Linked DNA regions of Homo sapiens: region 1 is linked to region 2. The links are contacts of gene promoters, found by promoter capture Hi-C in human tissues and cell types (Jung and others, 2019). All regions are on one chromosome and are shown on one strand. The core of a region is centred on a gene start or on the middle of the fragment in contact, and the rest is flanking DNA. Distances in the headings are between cores, read along the strand shown. Region 1 overlaps GREB1L (GREB1 like retinoic acid receptor coactivator). Region 2 holds the start of GREB1L (GREB1 like retinoic acid receptor coactivator).

What was found. Contacts are between HindIII fragments. The study calls those that stand out against the background at their distance.
Region 1: a contact is called between a fragment that was not itself captured here and the fragment with the promoter of GREB1L in region 2, in 1 of the 25 tissues and cell types used here (IMR-90 fibroblasts).

The regions. Positions count from the first base shown.
Region 1 is chr18:21,487,136-21,494,510 of GRCh38, forward strand. It overlaps GREB1L (GREB1 like retinoic acid receptor coactivator), which reads left to right. Exons shown (of 33, transcript NM_001142966.3): 19 at 2,877-3,216. Among named protein-coding and RNA genes, the nearest start is that of GREB1L-AS1, 40 kb to the left of the region's middle. The HindIII fragment of the contact is 5,281 bases long and covers 1,410-6,690 here.
Region 2 is chr18:21,239,069-21,245,581 of GRCh38, forward strand. It overlaps GREB1L (GREB1 like retinoic acid receptor coactivator), which reads left to right and starts at 3,164. Exons shown (of 33, transcript NM_001142966.3): 1 at 3,164-3,325. It overlaps GREB1L-DT (GREB1L divergent transcript), which reads right to left and starts at 3,660. Exons shown (of 3, transcript NR_183513.1): 1 at 3,542-3,660; 2 at 2,209-2,267; 3 at 1,607-1,939. The HindIII fragment of the contact is 24,686 bases long and covers 1-6,513 here.

The sequences.
Region 1 (7,375 bases), core at 2,800-5,299, 250 kb after region 2:
TTTAAGCATTCCTACCCACCTGTTACATCCACCAGCTTGAAATGCATCTTCTTTTTCTGGTAACATCATTCAGAGTTTCCTAACTTTTATTTTAAATGATGATCTCATCAACTTTCTATTGTAGTTTTGTGCTACAAAAGTTGTAAGTATAGTTTAATGCAAGCATGACAGATTGGAGAAACTGTGCACTTCTGACTTCATGATTCTTCCAGAGTATGAAACAGAAATGCCAGATATCAAAGTTACCATTTATTCTAACTTTGGCTTTTCTACGTGGCCCAGCAAAAAGCATTAAGCTTGAAACATAGATTATCTATACTTATTTCCTCCAACCCAGTCACCCCAGCCTAATAGTAGCTATGACTTACTGAATACCTGAAGGGACCAGCCCAGGATTTATTGAACTGAAGGATTTCTTCATTTCTACCCAGCCAGCTAAATCCTTGCAATGTGTGAAGACCTTGCTAGAGGCTGGATAAAATCTAGAGCTAGCTTTGTCTCTGATCAGTTGTATGAACTGGGACAAGCAGCTGAACTTCTCTCTGCCCCTGAACTCATTCTCTTTCTATGAAAAGGCAGAGTGGGCTGGGCGCGGTGGCTCATGCCTGTAATCCCACCACTTTGGGAGGCCAAGGTGGGTGGATCACCTGAGGTCAGGAGTTCGAGACCAGCCTGGCCAACGTGGTAAAACCCTGTCTCTACTAAAAATACAAAAAAAAAAAAAAATTAGCCAGGCGTGGTGGCGGGCACCTGTAATCCCAGGTACTTGGGAGGTTGAGGCAGGAGAATCACTTGAACCTGGGAGGCGGAGGTTGCAGTGAGCTGAGATTGCGCCATTGCACTCCAGTCCGAGCGACAGAGTGAGACTCCATCTCAAAAAAAAAAAAGACCGGGTGCAGTGGCTTACACCTGTAATCCCAGCACTTTGGGAGGCTGAGGTGGGCGGATCACCTGAGGTCAGGAGTTTGAGACCAGCCTGATCAACATGGAGAAACCCTGTCTCTACTAAAAATACAAAATTAGCTGGGCGCATGCCTGTAATCCCAGCTACTCAGGAGGCTGAGGCAGGAGAATTGCTTGAACCCGGGAAGCGAAGGTTGCAGTGAGCCAAGATTGCACTACTGCACTCCAGCCTGGGTGACAGAGCGGGACTCTGTCTCGAAAAAAGAAAAAGAAAAGGCAGAGTTGTTCATATACAGGGCATCTTGGTCCTTTCCAGTTCTAAAACACCTCAAAAGTGTTCATGTGTTATTCATTTGATAGCTGTCATTGGCATTTCTTTGACCTGGAGGTTTTCTGTGCAAGGCCAGTGGACCACTTGTTGTATTTTAAGTAGAATTATAGAATGGAACAAAGGTGAAATCCCCCATTAGCCTACCCAGCTGCTGGTGGCTGCATTGCTACCAAATGGCAACCAGAAAGAAAGTGCACAGCCCCAGCCTTATTCTACCAGGCTCCATGAGAGCATTGGCCAACCTTGGACCCAGAGCCCACTTTGCCAGCACCTACTTTCTTTCTTTTTCTCTTTTTTATATTTTTAAGACAGACTCTCACTCCGTCGCCCAGGCTGGAGTGCAATGGCATGATCTCGGCTCACTGTAACCTCCACCTCCCAGGTTCAAGTGATTGTCCTGCCTCAGCCTCCCAAGTAGCTGGGATTACAGGCGCCCGCCACCACACCCAGCTAATTTTTATATTTTTAGTAGAGATGGGGTTTCACCATGTTGGCTAGGCTGGTCTCGAACTCCTGATCTCAAGTGATCCACCCACCTCGTCCTCCCAAAGTGCTGGGATTATAGGCATGAGCCACCGCGCCCAGCCTACTTTCTTTTTTAAAAAATTTTATTTTTATTCAGCAGCAGAAGTACTGCTGGGCAGTGTGCTCAGGGTAGCCAAGCACCTGCTTTCTTGACTAGCAGCTCTTCATGCCTGTAACTGGGTCCTCTTTGCCCATTCGTACTCATTTTGTCATCAGGCCTGGCTGAGGCGTAGCACCAAAAGGAGAGATTTGTTTTCTACCTCCTATAATTGTAAAAACTGCCGATTTTAACAAAGGGATCCTCTTCCCTGGCAGTCCAGGCTTAGGGGAAAATGGTACCAAAGGCTGCTGCTGCTACCAGGCTCAGATTTGCTTGGCTCCCTTGACGGAGCCAGGTCTCAGGTGATGAGGCTACAACACTAGGGGGTGCTATTTCTCCAGTCAGCTCCAAGTTTCTCCAGCACCAAGGAACAGTTTATGGAAAGATAGAAATTGCTATCTGTGAGGCTGACCTCAGATTAGTAGTAATAATTACCCTTTTTATGTCTAATACTCGACAGATATTACATTAATGCCTCAGTTTCCTGTATTGTAATCTTATATATCAGAGAAATAAGTGGACAGTGCTGCCATTCTAACCCAATACCACCAGCAAGAGGTGAGGATCCAGGAATTATCCATGATGACTATGCTGGCAATGAATGGAATAGACCAGCGTGTCTCAGAATTTAACGTGCATGCAATTCCCTGGGAGTCTTGTTAAGCTTCAGATTCTGATTAGTAGGTCTGGGGTGGGGAGATTGAGCATTTCTAACAAGCTCCCAGGTGCTGCTGCTGCTGGTGGTCTGTAGACCATACTTTGAGAAGAGGTTTCTAGACAATCTCTAAACCCCTTTACTGTGCTGTACTTATCCCAACAGGTTGATTCACATGCTTTGGAAGCTCAACCTTTTCCTTCCAGTGATGTAGGATCCCAGGTCATTCTAGAACTAAAGCCCCACCACACTGATCAGTAGCCCCTTCCCCACCATGCTTAATCTGCATTCTTACTGCACAGGCCTTGCTGCTCCCAGCTGGCCCTGCTGCCTGAGTGCTAGTGCCTTGTTTTCTGTTGAAGGTACCCCAGGCTGCACAGCATGGTCGTCCGCTGCTATCTTCTCATCCAGCAGTACTCTGAGGCCCTGATGGCTCTCACCACCATGGCGTCACTCCGCGACCACAGCACACCAGAAACACTCAGCATTATGGATGACCTCATCAGCTCCCCAGGCAAAAACAAAAGTGGGAGGGGACACATGCTCATTATCAGGGTGCCCTCGGTGCAGCTGGCGATGTTAGCCAAGGAGCGGCTACAGGAGGTGCGCGACAAACTGGGTCTGCAGTATCGGTTTGAGATCATCCTTGGGAACCCGGCCACCGAACTCAGTGTTGCAACTCACTTTGTGGCGCGATTAAAGGTTAGCAATGGACAGACATTTCTCCTTTAAAATACCATTTGTTTCTCTTTTCTAGGAATCCTACATAGGTGGCTCAGGGGCCTGAGTTTAATAGAATCACATGTGTGATTCCATGACAATGATAAGGCTAAATTAAGGGACATATTCACTTTCTTAATTAGAACCAGTTTGTAAAGATTGCCCAGCCCTTTATAGCATGCAGTTAGTGCATGCAGTTGGTCTTCCATGCTCTCCAACTGCAGGTGCAAAAAAATGAGATGACCCAATTTGACCCCATGTTTATTGGCCTTGTTCAAGATGCATGTAGCCCATGGCCATCTGTTTTCTGAGAAAAAAAGGTAAGTTATCCTCTCAGACCTCTGTGGGGTAATGTTTTAAGTATCCTCAACTCACTAATTCTTTTCTGTTCATCTAGCCTCTCTGTGAGCTCATGTCTAGAGTCGGTAAAGTATTCTGTTTCATCTTCAGTACTCAGAACTGTTCCTAGCCCTCTTGCATGTGGATTCCTCAGCAGTTTGTTGTTTCTTTTTACTTGCTTTGACCCTCAGCCCCAAGGCTTTGGCTGGACTGAGACTTTGCCAGGCGCCCTACAGAAGAATTTAGTGCATGACTGAGTCCCTCACTGCTCCCTCTGCACGGCCAGTGATTGACTGCTTCTCCCCTTCCTCTCCTGTCAAGCATCAGGGTGGGAGGAGTAGAACCCTCAGCCAACTAACCTAACTCCCTACCTTATGCCTGACTCGGTTTTTCTGGGCCTGTAATCCAGTGGGGCCTAGCCATTAGAAAGCATTTAATCAAATATCCACCTACATGTCGGTATGGAACTGAGCTAGCTACTGTATGTCTGAGTTAGACCAACTTGTTTCTGCGCCCTATACATTAAATGCTGAGCTAAATTGGGTTAAGGAAAATCTGGTTCAGCACAAATTTTATGAAAAGAAGGCACATAGTCATGGGGGAATTTGCATTTTCACCCTGGGCTGCGGTTTCCCATCTGCAAAATGAGAGAATTGGGTTGTATAATCTCTAAGAGTTCTAATTTGGGGATGATTATTTAGTGTTCAAAAATTGTTCTGGGCTGGGCGCAGTGGCTCATGCCTGTAATCCCAGCACTTTGGGAGGCTGAGGCAGACAGATCAGGAGGTCAGGAGATCAAGACCATCCTGGCTAACATGGTGAAACCCCGTTTTTACTAAAAATACAAAAAAAAAATTAGCCAGGTGTGGTGGCGGGTGCCTGTATTCCCAGCTACTCAGGAGGCTGAGGCAGGAGAATGGTGTGAACCCAGGAGGCGGAGCTTGCAGTGAGCCAAGATCGCACCACTGCACTCCAGCCTGGGCGACAGAGCGAGACTCTGTCTCAAAAAAAAAAAAAAATTGTTCTGGAGATGTAAATCTTCTTCTTGTGTTCAGTTAGCTAACCTAAATTGAATAATCCAAAATGCAGACAAAATATCTTGTATTAGCTTAATAAGCAATTGGAACAAATAAAATTGTCCAAAAAATAGAAACTCCTAAATTTAGAAGTTGTAACATTTATGTTTCATATATAGATACACGTTCACAATTTTATGTTATAGTCATAGACTACATTACAGTGGAATTCCTAGGATGAATAACAAAACTCCGGAAACGCTTCTTACAGTATAATTCATGGAGACATGAATTACGGGCTTGAGACCATTTGAATATTGCTAATGATGAAGAATTTGGAGGCTGGGCACGGTAGCTCATGCCTGTAATCCCAGCACTTTGGGAGGCCGAGGCGGGCGGATCACAAGGTCAGGAGATCAAGACCACCCTGGCTAACACGGTGAAACCCTGTCTCTACTAAAAATACAAAAAATTAGCCAGGCATGGTGGCGGGCGCCTGTGGTCCCAGCTACTCGGGAGGCTGAGGCAGGAGAATGGCGTGAACCCGGGAGGCGGAGCTTGTAGTGAGCCGAGATTGTGCCACTACACTCCAGCCTGGGCGACAGAGCAAGACTCTGTCTCAAAAAAAAAAGAAAGAAAAAGAAAAAGAATTTGGAAAGGCGGACAATCAGCAGCACCATGCTAAGTCTCCCACATCTGTTGCCAGAGATGACCTAAATGCACGTGAGGCTGCTGGGTCTTCTCCTGGTCTCTGTTGACACTGATTAAGTGAAGCTACTTAGAGAGTCTTAATCATGTGTTCAGAAGGGCCAGTCACTAAGTCAGTATAAATCAGTCTGTCCTAAATAATTTACCCCTCTGGACCACTGTTGGAAAACCACAGTCAAGGCCTGAGGTTCTTCACCTGGCTGCTAGCTCATCAGAATCACCTGCAGGGCTTTCAGAGGCACATTAGTTGACAATCACTGTGCCCTAAACGAAGGGGGCCTCAAGTTACGACTTCTCAAGGCAGTGACATCTTCCTCAATTGGTATGAGTAGCTGCCAGGCAACAAGTACGTATAAGAGTGTCCCATATTCTGGCTGCTGTGATGGCTCATGCCTGTAGTCCCAGCTACTTGGGAGCCTGAGGCAGGAGGTTTGCTTGAGCCCAGGAGTTTGAGGCTGCAGTGAGCTATGATCCCACCACTGCACTCCAGCCTGTGCAACAGAGTGAGACCCTGTCTCTTAAAAATATATAAAAATAAACAAGTCCCAAATTCTCAAAATCACTGGATCACATCAGTCCTTTTTATACTCTGTATTTGTGTGGGAGTAAAAATATGAGATCATGTTGGGATGTTCACATCGTAAGCAAGACTGAATTGTCAAGTAGATTGCGGCTCACTCATTTATTTCTAAGTTATCAACCTCCTTCACCATTTTCAGGATGGCAAGATTGTGCCTTCTATCTCTACTTTTGGGTAAAATCCAACACTACTTCTATTATGTGATCTTATTTTTGTGCTTACCCCTAATTATCCTGTTATGTATTGTGGTTAACTTATACTGATGATGACCCCTTTGGAAGGATACAAAGTTTAAGTCAGTTCCTCCAGAAGGCAGGTGAAGCTTTCATTAGATGTCCTTGTTCTTAAGCCTTGTATTATCCTTGAACTCAATGATCACCCCATCTTTTGTGTTAAGTGCTTCTGCAATGTCATCTTGAGGGCCTGATTGATGCACAGGAGAACTGCAGCCATCAGTCATCAGAAGGAGCAATGTGATGGAAAAGCATTTTATAGTGGGTTTGGCTAGCTGTGGTTGGTCAAGAGTAAAAGTGAGATTTGACTACTAATCTGAAAATAAACATCCTCATATAGGCCAGGTGCAGTGGCTCACGCCTATAATCCCAGCACTTTGGGAGACTGAGGCGGGCAGTCGCTTGAGGTCAGGAGTTCAAGACCAGCCTGGCCAATATGGCGAAACCCCATCTCTACTAAAAATACAAAAATTAGCCAGGTGTGGTGGTGGGTGCCTGTAATCGCAGCTACTCAGGAGGCTGAGGCAGGAGATTCGCTTGAACCCGGGAGGTGGAGGTCGCCATGAGCCAAGATTGCACCACTGTACTCCAGCCTGGGTGACAGAGTGAGACCCTGTCTCAAAAAAAAAAAAAAAAAAAAAAAAAAAAGTCCTCATACAGTAAAACATTTTAACTCTTATTCCATCAATATAAACCTGACCTCTTCCTGGTAAAGCTATGACCTCTATAGAGACAGTTCTGGGAGATAAAACACATTCAGGGAGAAACCCAGTGTCAGGGATACCATGCGTCCAGTGTGAATGTGATCAGTAAAGTGATTTCTATTCCAGAATGGTTTGCTTTAAATGAGACAATGTTATGGTTCCCCCTGACATGAAATGGTATGGAAAATTAAATTTTTACAGAGAATTTTTCTTCTAGCATTAAAAAAATCTTTTTGACACATTGATTTTTCTAAAACACGGGAAGTCTGTGAAACTTGTGAACAGTTACGTAGATTCCCTATTTCCCCTTAGTATGCACATATATAATAAAAGATTGGACAACAAGTAAAAGCCTAAGAATGGTTAAGCTTCTTCCAGTTTTACAAATTATAGAAATTTTATTTGAAGTGATTGTGGGAATGTTTATTTCTAAAGACTGGCTTTTCTTTATTGAGCCTTTTCTTTATTGAGCCTTTTCTAGGCATTAGCAAATCACCAATCAAACCCTATTGTCTTTTGCTTGGTGACTTTCTTTTTATCCTATTTTGTGCTTAGCAAAGG
Region 2 (6,513 bases), core at 1,914-4,413:
TCAACATTTAATAGTGTTCCGGGCTGGGCATGGTGGCTCATACCTGTAATCCCAGCACTTTGGGAGGCTGAGGCGAGCAGATCACCAGAGGTCAGGAGTTTGAAACCAGCCTGCCAACATGGCGAAACCCCGTCTCTACTAAAAATACAAAAAATTAGCCAGGCGTGGTGGCGGGCACCTGTAATCCCAGCTACTCAGGAGGCTGAGGCAGGAGAATCGCTTGAACCTGGGAGGCAGAGGTTGCAGTGAACCGAGTTCATGCCACTACACTCCAGCCTGGGCAACAAGAGCAAAACTCTGTCTCAAAAAAAAAAAAAAAAAAAAAAAAAAAAAAAAAAGTGTTTCAGGCACTAATGCATCTTCTTTTTTTTTTTTTCTTTTTGAGACATAGTCTCACTCTGTCACCAGGCTGGAGTCAGGATTCAAAACTATGGGACCTTTTTTCAGAATGTTCACTCTGAACCCTATCATCTTTTATAATTATGGAGGTCTACTGGGCATGCTGAGGGACATAGAAATCCCAAAGGGAAGACAAGGCAGAAACACAAATTCAGGACACAGGAGTGTGAAATCTTTTTTTTTTTTTTTGAGTCGGAATTTTGTTCTTGTTGCCCAGGCTGGGGGTGCAATGGCGCAATTTGGCTCACTCCAACCTCCGCCTCCAGGATTCAAGCGATTCTCCTGCCTCAGCCTCCCAAGTAGCTGAGAATACAGGTGTGTGCCACCAACACCTAGCTAATTTTGCATTTTTAGTAGAGATGGGGTTTCACCATGTTGGTCAGGCTGGTCTCGAACTCCTGACCTCAAGTGTTCCACCTGCCTTGGCCTCCAAAGGGCTGGGATTACAGGCGTGAGACACTGTACCCGGCTGGGAGTTTGTTATCTAATGAAGATGGCATTGAACTCTTTTCAATCTACCAGGATATATAGATTACTCTCACTTTTACCCTTGTTAGGGACTTGCCTTGTTTACTGACAAATCACCACTACTACTGATATATTGTGCCGTCTAACTCACATTAGGTGCTCAATATCTGTTGAATGGATGAAGAATGAATACCAGAGTCCTGTAATATTAGACTATGGTCCTTGAGTGACTGCCAGATTTGCTTTCACATTTCTAGGGTCTAGTGTACCTGGCACTCAACAAATGGTCCTTGCACTAAGAGAGAAAACTGCACTGGTGGTTTTACTTTAAAGCGGCTCCTTGTTCAGTGTCCTTATCTTTAAATTGGAAGGTGTTTTGCTTCTGCCCAACCCCCACACACTCTACAGACCTTGTGATGGGTTGAGTTTTTCAAAAGATTCTCACCTGCTTTAACTTCTATGAGCTTAGTTTATATTCACCAGGTGAACTTAAAATTTCAGTTTCTACAGCACTGTCTTTTCCACGTGTATGGCCAGTTCTCATGATGAGTTTACTAAGTGACTTTGGATTCTTTTAGCTATTGCTAATCATCTGCACCTTTCTGTTGTAGTTATTTTAAAGCCCGCCCGCGCGCGCGCGCGCACACACACACACACACACACACACACACACACTCTTGAGTCAGGGTCTCTGTCACCCAGGCTAAAAGCGCTGGGACTACAGACATGAGCCACCGCGTGGGGCCAAAAACATACGGATTTTATTTACTAAACCTGTATTGTGTGCATGACCCAGAATTGTGGGAGTACAGCAATGACTGAGAAAGCCGTGTTTCCCACCTTCGTGGCACATAACAATGTTTCTATGGGTTTTTAAAGGCCCAACAACAGGGATTCAATTATAAAATAAAAATATTTCGGTACAAAACATGATTTAAAAAAAGACAACTATGTCTTCCGAGTGGAGGAGGGAAAGGACAATCAAACCTCGAACAAATCGTTTATCTTGCTAGTCACAGCTTAGCTATGCCTTGTTATTTTCCGGTGATTCCAAACTTCCAGTCCATTCCCTCTGCATGGATCAAAAGTGACAGGAAAGAAAAAAATGTATTTCGGATATGGCAAAAAAGAAAAATGCAAGACAAGCAAACAAAAGTACTGGGACATCGTATGAGAACTAGTTTAATTGACAATGTCTTTAAATGGTACCTATCACTTGACAATGATTCCAACCCACCCGGGCCTGGGCGCCGCGGCTGCCTCCCCACTCCCACGCACACGGGGAGCTCCCCCGGGCTGTACTGCACTAAAGGCACTCAAAATACATCAGCCTTTCCTTACCTCGATTCTTCCACCACATCCAGCATGGAGCTGCTGCTTCCAGAGATGTAGTCGCCTATCTGTGGCAACAATTAGTTTTAAAAATGGAGCCGCATCTCTAATAACAAAAGCCTCCAGCTGTGAAAAGTGGAGCTAAATCTCTCTACCGGGCCGCAGCATCTCTCAAGAACCTTTTCCCCGCAGCACCCGTCAAGGCCCAGGGCCAGCTGGACGCGGCTGCCCTGGGGTGGAGCCGTCCCCGTGGTCCCGGGAGGCTACCGACGAGCCGGGGCCCGGGGCCGGAGGGCGTGCTCCTCCGGGAGGTGCAAAAGTCGGCTTGGGCCCGGAGCTCCCGGGTTTGTTTGGTTTTGTCCGCGCCCTGCCCCCACCCTACCCCCTTCATGCAAAAGGCCAAGGGTTTCCGAGCCACCACTGCCCAGGCCGAGTTCACGCTTGGGGCTCTTCAGCCGCCGTCCAGTGAACAGAGAAAGCAATTGCGCAGAGGCGAGAGCAGGCTGAATGAACGCGGGCTCCAGGGGAAATAATTTTTCCTCCTGGCTTCGCGCGTCAGCACACTGGGGTGCAGCCCTCCCTCACAGAAGACCCCCCCCCCGCACGACCCCCTGTACACCCCCGCGGGGCTGCGCGTTCGTCTGTGCGGCGGGGTTTGGGAATGGAGGCGTGAGGACCGCGCATCGAGGGCTCCACAGGCTGGGCGGGGGGCGTCGTTGGAGGGGGGTAGGGGAGAAATGCGCGCCCACCACCCTCACAGAGGGCGAGGGACCCCCAAAAGCCACTCGCGGACGCCGAGGCAGCGGGAAGGCGCGAGGCGGGGCGGGGGGAGGGGGCGCGGGGGTCCCCGCTGCGGAGGCCAGGGCGGGCGGGAGGGGCAGCACCTGAGGAATCCGCCTCCGGCTGCGGCGGCCGCCGCCTCGCTCCGCCCCGGGGAACTGAGCGCGCGGACCGCGCGCCTGCCAGAGAGACGCCAGCCGCCGGCGGCGCTAGCACCTCGGAGTCGGGCGGCCGGAGCAGCGGAGCGCAGCGCGGCGCAGGGAACGGCACTGGGGGTGGGGAGACCAGCCCGGCCGAGCCGAGGGCCACCCCCTGGTCCTCTGCCCTCGCGCCCCGCTAGGGCCAGGTGAGCGGCCGCGGGGACTCCGGGGCGCGGGCAGGAGGTGAGAGGTCGCGAACCGGGCGCGGGAGCTCGCCTGTGACCGGCAGGAGCTGCCCTTTGGCGGGCTGGACGCCCTGGCCGCGCGGGGAAGCGCCGCAGCGGACTTTTCCGGAGGGATGGGAAGCTCAGCGGGGGTGTGAGCGGAGCGCGTGCGGGTGGCGAGGGAGCGCCAGTGCCAACCTGGGAGCCGTGCCTGCCTTCCCTGCCGCCTCGCGTCGCCCACCGAAGGGACCCGGCCGTGCTGTCCGCGCCCAGAGGCCGAAGGCCTGTCACCGGGCTCTACTCGCTGCCTTTGTGGCGGGAGCGAGACGGCCCGGGGGTGGGACGAGGGAGCTGCGGCGCGCCGAGTAGCGCGGGGTCCCCCGGCGGAGGCGGCGAGGGGGCACCTGGTTCGTCTCCCCGAGCCCAGGGGCAGTGAGGGGGTGCCGGGCAGGCGGGCGGGCGACAGGTAGGGCGCCGCGGAGGTGGCGGGGAGAGGATGGATGGAGTTCAGCCTGGGAAAGTTGAGAACGTCCAGAGGTGGCTGGGCGCTCGCTCGGCGTCTGTGGGTTTTTTTCCTCAACACCAAATGTCACTTCGTCACGAGCGGGCGCGCGTGTCTTCCGGCCAGCATGTCCATTTTTCTGTGCATGGCTGAGGACCACTCTTATTCCGAATGAGACACAAAGAGTTGTGTTGACAGCTGACCCTGACACAAGCAGACAGCGAGTGAGGTGCGCCCTGGCCGGGGAGGGTGAGGGAGACTCGTTAAAGGAAATCCATTCCCGCCGTCCCTCTTCCCAGCTCCATTAAGAGGAAACTCCATGTGGAGATTCAGTGCGTGGGGTTTCTCAGTTACATGAGTCCAAGGAACGTCCCCGAACGCGACTCGTTTGCCCGGAACTGCCGCTGCCTCTAACCGAGGCTGCGGGTCCTGGAGAAACTCCTCAGTCTTGCCCCTTTCTCCGGTGAACGTGACGGTTCCAAGGTCCTTATCCTCCCCACCCACTCCTCTGGCCCCGGCTGAGAGGATAGAAACCACATTTTAATTTCTGCTTTTCACACCGTAAGGTGTTTTTTTCCGCCTCCCCCCGCCTCGAGGCGGGAATCCCTGCTTAAATCACATTTTTAAACCTAGCCGTTTAAATACAGGGAAGAGCTTTCCCACAAAAGGTTTTTGAACTCAGTCCCCCTTAATAAAACCTCTCATTCATCTATATATGTTCTTAGACTTTAAATCCTGGAACTCTGCTTTGAGTGTTGTGACTGTGTTGTTTCTTCTCTTTGCTGAAATTTTCTAGGAGGTTTTGTGAATGATACTGAAAAATTATTTAAAAGAGAAAAAATTAAATTGTTGAAATATTTAGTAATACAGTTACATGCATATAGGTATGTATTTCAAGAGGAAAATGTTTAATGAATGAATATATAAGTAGGGTAAACATTTCAAACAACAGTGAAGAGTATACAGTGTAAATTAAGCCCTCTTTCCTCTCCTCCATACAAGCCTTCATCCTTCTCAGAGGCAGCCACTGTTGTATATTTTTTGTATATCTTTCCGTAAGTCTATTAAAATGGAATTACATTATAGATGATGAAAGGGATTGAATATAAGACTGAACTATATATTCGTGGTGATGACCATTAACTTGATACCCACTCATGATGACATGAGATTATTTAGCCAAATGTGGACAATTATTACCTTGAAGATCAGTTAGAGGGCTAAAAATCTTAGAACAGTATGCAGTGGAAAGCAAAACTATTAAACTAATATCTCCTCCTGCACACACACCAGTTTCCCTACACTGGTTTTTGCAATCTTTATTGAATTTTTCCTCCATTTTGGAATTCTTTATGAAGTAGAGAATGAGAACTGTAGTAGTTTACTTTGTCTACCGCAGTGTGTATCTGAAAACACTGAAAGGGCGTGTGTATACTCCCATTGACATGACATAATATAAAGATGTTAGTGGTAAAGGATAAATACGAAGGCCGAGTTTCAGATGTTTGGTTGCATCTCTTAATTCTAGGCCTGGATTTGCCACAAACCCGCCACACGACGTAACTTTTTTTTGGAAAACTTTGTTTCCCACTCAGTTAGATAAAGGAATTGAACTATGTGATTTTTAAGGGTCCTTCGAACTCCAGAGTTCTACGATTAAAATAGTTGTCCTAAAACTGGCTAAAGATAACCATTGGACTGTGGATGTTAGACAGTGGGGCGACAAAAAACATTCCTGAATGGTGGATTCATGAAGAGGAGGTTAGAGATGTTTAAACTATATCCCTGCTCTTACGAGTTTGATGTCATTGGAGAACAGCTACTCTCCTTACCCACAGAATGTGTGTTTATGTTGCTGATAGAGGCCAAACACCGGGCTGAGGGCCTCTCATGTCACCTTGTGTGGCTAAGGAGAGTGAATTCTCCTCGCAGCCCACAGTGTCATTTTTAGGAAAATTACTCTTACCAAACTCTTCTTTTTGGTAAAGTGGAAATTAACTTTACCTACTTGAAAGAGACTTGACATAATTTAATTTATACTTCTCTGAAGTGTTTAGATTATGAACATCCCTTATAGCTAAGATATTTTAGTTACTTGATAAATATTCACCTAGGGAGTATGTTCTTATTAGGAAACTTCTAATTTGTAAAGTACCTGCAGCCTTTGGGCTAATGATGGGGACAGGAGTTAAGGAGTGATTGTAAGGTTGTGAAAGTAAAAATTAGCTGATTTTAGTGACTGCGTATGGTCTAAATTAAGGGATTTCAAAGGTACACTGTAAGCGATGATTGCAAAAAGTGTTGATGTTAAGATAGAGATCTCATACTGAAAGCTAAAGCTTTCTAAAAGCACCGCTGATGAAACATATGTAATTATTTTGAATAAGTCTAATATAAATTATAAATTCGCTGTAGGAATTGTTTGGGATCCTAAGAATAAGAACTAGAAGAATATATTTGTAAGGGTACTTAGAGTAATATTGATTGATTAATGAAGCTGACAGAAACAAAAGAAAATTCAATACCAGTAGTGAAATTCTTCAAAATGGTAATGGTTTTTATTTTTTCCAGCTCCCTTCCCAATCTTGCCATATGAATGAATATTTTTACAAATGTTTTATATTGCAGATAATTTTCACCCTGTTTTTTATAAACATTTTTTCTATAG